Linked DNA regions of Homo sapiens: region 2 is linked to region 1. The links are contacts of gene promoters, found by promoter capture Hi-C in human tissues and cell types (Jung and others, 2019). All regions are on one chromosome and are shown on one strand. Each heading gives the region's core, a stretch centred on a gene start or on the middle of the fragment in contact. The rest is flanking DNA. Distances are from core to core; before and after follow the strand shown. Region 1 holds the start of BRAT1 (BRCA1 associated ATM activator 1). Region 2 overlaps LOC105375130 (a long non-coding RNA gene).

What was found. The method cuts DNA at HindIII sites, captures the fragments that hold promoters and counts their contacts. A contact is called where the count stands out against the background at its distance.
Region 2: a contact is called between a fragment that was not itself captured here and the fragment with the promoter of BRAT1 in region 1, in 1 of the 25 tissues and cell types used here (lymphoblastoid cells).

Annotation. Positions count from the first base shown.
Region 1 is chr7:2,554,150-2,557,137 of GRCh38, forward strand. It overlaps BRAT1 (BRCA1 associated ATM activator 1), which reads right to left and starts at 1,375. Exons shown (of 14, transcript NM_152743.4): 1 at 1,338-1,375; 2 at 156-298. The coding sequence starts at 282. RefSeq lists a silencer at 1,130-1,369 and an enhancer at 1,282-1,959. The HindIII fragment of the contact is 14,393 bases long and covers 1-2,988 here.
Region 2 is chr7:3,093,641-3,096,628 of GRCh38, forward strand. It overlaps LOC105375130 (a long non-coding RNA gene), which reads right to left. Exons shown (of 2, transcript XR_007060191.1): 2 at 486-1,945. Among named protein-coding and RNA genes, the nearest start is that of CARD11, 51 kb to the left of the region's middle. The HindIII fragment of the contact is 3,745 bases long and covers 1-2,988 here.

The DNA.
Region 1 (2,988 bases), core at 125-2,624:
CACAGATAATCCTTAGGAAGTGAAGGAAAGACATCTGATTGGCAGTTTCTGCCCTTCCTCCAGGACAGGGGAGTCCCCATCTGGCCCCTGCTCCCTGTCCCAGCCTCTGCGTCTGGTCTCTGGATAGGCAGTAAACAGCAGCACCACCTCCTTACCTCCTTCAGTGACCGTTTTAAACCAGTCCAGGAGCTTCTCCAAACAGGTGTCATCTGCCACCGGCTGCCTGGGATCTACCAGAACAGCACAGAGAGCCGGGAGCAGCTGGGCGCATTCTGGGTCCATGGTGAGGCCGCAGGCCCTGCAAAGGCAATGTGAGAGCCAAACCTCAATGCCCACTCCAGACCCAGCTCGCTCTAGTCACAGCAGCCCACCATGCCTGCTCAGGCCTGGGAAGGGGCCCCAGAACTTTCATCTCAGACCAGGAGAACCATGATCCCCAGACCAGAGGTCTGTACTGCAGGGATGGATGCAAAGCTTTGGTCTAGGTGGGGCCCTGAGCGCTGGTGGCGGGGCTGAAAGGGGCAGATGAGGGTCTAGCTGAAACCACAAGGCCTCCGGAACTCAAAGTCTGTCACCCTTGGTCTTTGGTGCAGTCGGGGCAACAGCGTGGTGCTGGCCCAGGCTGCAGGTGGGCCAGAGTCAGGGGCATCTTTGAGTTCCGGGGTCAGCCATGTGTGCAAGGGGATGTCTACCCATGCCCCAGGGCCAGCCTGGGCTGGAAAGTTTCTGTCCCTCCCAGCGTCAAGTGGTGGCTGCATTTGACGTCCTGAAGCCAGCAGGGGGGTGCGGAGGGGAAGGGGCGCCTGTCCGTGTGTCTGTCCCTCTCAGGGTCAGTGGTGGCTGCATTTGCTGTTCTGCAGCCAGTAGGAGGGTGAGGAGGGGAAGGGGCACCTGTCCGTGTGTCTGTCCCTCCCAGGATTAGTGGTGGCTGCATCTGAAGCCGGCGGGGGGGAGAGGGGGGCGGCGGGGTGCGGAAAGGAAGGGGCGCCTGTCTCTCCCAGGACCAGGTGTGCATCCGTGCGTCCAGCCTCGGGGGTGGGCGGGGTGGTCAGCGGCTCTGTCTAACCGGGGCACCGTCTGCCAATGCCCGGGAAGGCTGCGTCCCGGGAAGAGGAACCCTCCCCACACTTTGAAGTCAGTTTTGGCCGCGAGCGCCAGGCCCGAGAGTCCAGAAGGGGCGCCAGAGCAGGCGGCCACAGTCGGGCTGGGAAGCGAGCCCAGGTCGCGCACGCCCCGGGCTGGGCTGCTCCCTGGCCCGCCCGCCCCCCTCGGCCGGGTCTTGGCCTCCCCGCGCCCCACTACCACGACCTCGACCCCCGAAGGCCCACGCGCCTCACCGCTCGGTTGCGTCCTCCGCCGCAACCACCCCTCGCCCAAGGCTCCGCCTCCGGACAGTGCCACCTGCCAGGCCCGGAGGAGGCGGAGGACGGAGACGGCTGGCGTGGGGAACTGAGACTGCACCCCTGGAGGCCGCTCTGGAAGCCTCGAGGGCCCAGACTTGAAGGAAGGAGTTCAAGCTGAGAGGGGCTGGGGACAGGCAGGCGCCAAGCCGGTCGCTCCGACAGATCACCCCCGCCAGGCGCCTAGTGGTTCATGCCGAGCATCCGGTGGGTGGGCGGGGCGTCTCGAGGGCGGGGATCTCTGAGGAAGGCGCGGGGTTGTGTCCGGAGGGGCGGGGCTTCGCCTGCAGGGCGCCCAGTGTCTGCACCGGCGGGAGCGAGAAAACTATGTGCCGGAGAGAAGCGTCCTGATCCGTGCACCAAAGCCCTTGGTCATTTAGCTTCAGGTTCTCAAATTAAGTCCTCCGCGGCCGCGCTGTGGCTCATGCCTGTAATTCCAGCCCTTTAGGAGGCGCAGTTGGGAGGATTGCTTGAAGCCAGGAGTTGAGACCAGCCTAGGCAACAAAGCGAGACCCCATCTCTTAAAATTTAAAAAAAAAAAAAAAAAAAAAAAAAAAGGCCAGGCGTGGTGGCTCACGCCTGTAATCCCAGCGCTCTGGGAGGCCCAGGCGGGCGGATCACGAGGTCAGGAGTTCGAGACCAGCCTGGCCAACATGGCGAAATCCCGTCTCGTCTCTAATTTTTGTATCTCTAAGATATCAAAATTAGCCGGACGTGGAGGCGCGCGCCTGTAATCCCAAGTACTCGGGAGACTGAGGCAGGAGAATCTCTTGAACCTGGGAGGCGGAAGTTGCAGTGAGCCAAGATGGTGCCACTGCACTCCAGCCTGGGCTACAGGGCGAGACTCCGTCTCAAAAAAAAAAAAAGAAAATCAGCCAGACCTGGTAGCATGCGCCTGTGGTCCCAGCTACTCCAGAGGCTGAGGCGGGAGGATCGCTTGAGCCCAGAAGTTCAAGGCTGCAGTGAGCTATGATCCTGCCCCGGCACTCCAGCCTGGGCAACAGAGCAAGACCCTGTGTTTTAAGAAAGCAAACAGGCAGAAAAACTAGGTCCAAAAAATTGAGTTCAAAACACTAACTGTGTGTTCGAGAGTCTCAAAGCCAGTGGATAGACAAGGCTCATGTTCCCAAAGCATTGTTTTATAGCAAGATTGTTGGGAGCCAACACCAGATTTAGGAAACAAAGCAGAATTCCTATGGATATTAAAATTTAAAAATTTAAAAGCACTGACTTTGCTGGGTCACCTTTATTTTATTTATTTATTTATGGAGACGGAGTGTCACTCTTTTTGCCCAGACTGGAGTGCAATGGCTCAATCTTGACTCACTGCAACCTCCACCTCCTGGGTTCAAGCGATTCTCCTGCCTCAGCCTCCCGAGTAGCTGGGATTACAGGTGCGGGCCACCACGCCCAGCTAATTTTGTATTTTTAGTAGAGACGGGGTTTCACCATGTTGGCCAGGCTGGTCTCGAACTCCTGACTTTAGGTGATCCGCCCACCTAGGCCTCCCAAAGTGCTGGGACTACCAGCGTGAGCCAACGCGCCCAGCCGTGCTGGGTAACCTTGGAAAAGCAACTTCCCTGACGCT
Region 2 (2,988 bases), core at 342-2,841, 540 kb after region 1:
TCTCTTTGGCTTTTGCTGACGATTTACGTCTTATCATTTTCTACTTCAACACCTACCACCTTGCACTGGGGTACAGTGCAGGATTTGGACATCACAATTTTTTCTTCAGTAATGCCCCAAGGTTTCCCACAGATAAGAGGAGAAGGTTGGCCAGGTGTGGTGGCTCATACCTGTAATGGCAGCACTTTGGAAGGCTGAGGTGGGAGGATCACTTGAGCCTGGGTGTTTGAAATCAGTCTGGGTAACATAATGAGACCTCATCTCTATTAAAATTAAAAAACTAGCCAGGCATGGTGGTGAACACCTATAGTCCCAGCTACTCGGGAGGCTGAGGCAGGAGGATCACTTGAGCCCAGGAGGTTGAGGCTGCAGTGAGCCATGATTGTACCACTGCACTCCAGTCTGGGCCCCAGAGCAAGATCCTATCTCAAAAACAGCAACAACAAAAGAATAGGATGTTGCCAAAATAGGACAAACAACTGAGCTGAACGTTGGATGTTTTTAATCATAAGCATGGCTTGATTTACATCACTCCCTTCAGAAATGCAAAGGCTTCAGACATCGAGCCAAAGGCAAAACCATTGCAGGTATGTGGGGCCGGGAGAGCCCCAGCGAAGTCAGCTTGGTGCCCACTCCAGGCAGGCACAGGGCCAGCCCTGCTATGCTCCTTATCTCCTTTAATCCCCTAGCAACCCCAGAAGGTAGGTTTGTGATGATCCACACTCTGCAGATGAGGAAACTGAGGTTCAAGAGAGTTACTAACTTGCCCCTGGACATGCCCCTGGGAAGTGGCCGGGATGAGTTGGAAACCCATATCTACTTAGCTCCATGGTCCGGCTCTGTGTGCACTAAGACATCAATTACCCCCCGGGACTGGAAACCAGAAGGAGGCGGGCAATAGGTTGTGTTTGCTGACGGATCCCACCCAGAACTGATCCTACTGGATCTCCCTTAGGGAGACTCAGGAATCCTCACTACAGTGAATTACATGCACAGTTTTGGTGGCCAGAGGGGCATTTAGATGATGGCTACAGGAGTGCTTTTTTGAAAGCTTCATTAACTATACAAGTCAATACCCTATTGCAATTTCCATGAAATGGGTAATTCGGTGAAGTTCTTTTTTAACAAAATGTTGCATCAATGAGGGAATTCAGGGTGGGAGATCAACAGGAAGTTACAGTTGGAACCAATTTCAACCCACATAGAAAGATCCGGAAGCCTTGCAAGGAGACCATCACAGTAATCCGGCGTGAGAGTGCCGAGGCGTAGCTGCTGGAATCATCGCCCATTTTTCTAATTTGCAGCCTAGGAGCTGATCGTGCAACCCTGTTAGGGAGCTAATATAGGATGAAGATGGGACAAGTTGGTGTCGAGAGTAACACGCCGGCTCCTTAGCGGAGGTCTGAAGAACAATCGAGTTGAATTAATTTCTAAGAGACCCCATGACAGATTCTTGATGATGATCCCCAATTAGGGAAACCTCGGTTTCGTTTTTGTTTAATGTCAGGAAGTTAAGAGGCTGTGGGCGGATGGCTGTGAAAGACACGGAGGGTGAAAGCCTTGCCTCTCTTGAAACGTATGGGGCCGTGGCTGCAGGTCCTTTCATGCCTTCTCCAAAGAGGAAGTCGTGAAATCTGTGTGTCTCAGCCCATGTCCAAAGAGGGAAACGCTGTGATGAGAAGATACAGCGGTTCAACTCATTCTGGAGCCCACAGAGGCTTAAAAGAGGGGGAGAATCTGTTTCATGAAAAAGGGAAAGATTCAGTCTTGAACCAGATGAATGTGCCTGGGTGAAAATGCGTCAGTGGTACCAGAAAATCCAGACAGAATCCTTCCTCTGGGTTTTTCCCAAATCAACAAGTGTCTTTGGTTGCTGGGACGCAGGGAGAGAGCTGTTCATGGAGGAGCGTGGGAGGTCACATTCTTGAGGCCTGTTTAGTTTATCCTGTTAAAAGGAGGAGATGTGAGGCCAGGCACAGTGGCTCACACCTGTAATTCCAGCACTTTGGGAGGCCAAGGCAGGTGGATCACTTGAGGTCAGAGGATTGAGACAAGCCTGGCCAACATGGTGAAATCCCATCTCTACTAAAAATAAAACAAACAAACAAACAGAAACGCCTGGCGTGTTGGCTCACGCCTGTAATCCCAGCACTTTGGGAGGCTGAGGCAGGCGGATCACCTGATGTCAGGAGTTCAAGACCAGCCTGACCAACATGGAGAAACCCCGTCTCTACTAAAAATACAAAATTAGCCAGGGGTGGCTATGCATGCCTGTAATCCCAGGTACTCAGGAGGCTGAAGCAGGAGAATCGCTTGAACCCAGGAGGCTGAGGTTGCAGTGAGCCGAGATAGTGCCATTGCACTCCAGCCTCGGCAACAGAGTGAGACTCCATCTCAAAATAATAATAATAATAATAATAATAATAATAATAATACACCATATATTAGGGAAGAGATTTTTGTTTTTTTTTTAAACCACTTTCAGTCTCTTGATATCTCATTGCAAGTAAATAACCAAAGTACAGCCTGGTCTGGACAGGAGATCACCTCAATTTGGGGCAGCTCACACAATACAGTCTAAAATGTGGATGTTGCTGGGGGCGACCTCATTAGTCAGGCAGTCACCCCTGTGAGAGGGCGATGCGTCCCACTGCCAAGACGCTCAAGTACCAATATGGAATGCCAGTCCCTTAAAAGATTTTCCCTCCCTACGTCCCTGCGAAAGAGAGGCTGCCTGGATAATAGTCTTTCAATGTGTTGTGAAAAAAAAAATAGTGTTTCTAGCAAAAGTGTTAAAGTTTTATGGGAAAGTAAATTACTGTCTACCTGGTATAGATGCTTTTCGCGATGTAGCAGGCATTAATTACACATCTGAATGTGACAAGATCAGTCTTCGGTTTACTGAATTGAAGACGGTCTGCTCACCAGGAGGGGGTTTTCCTGAATATCATCAGGGTTCCTCCTCCTACTCCATGTCCGGTTTTACTG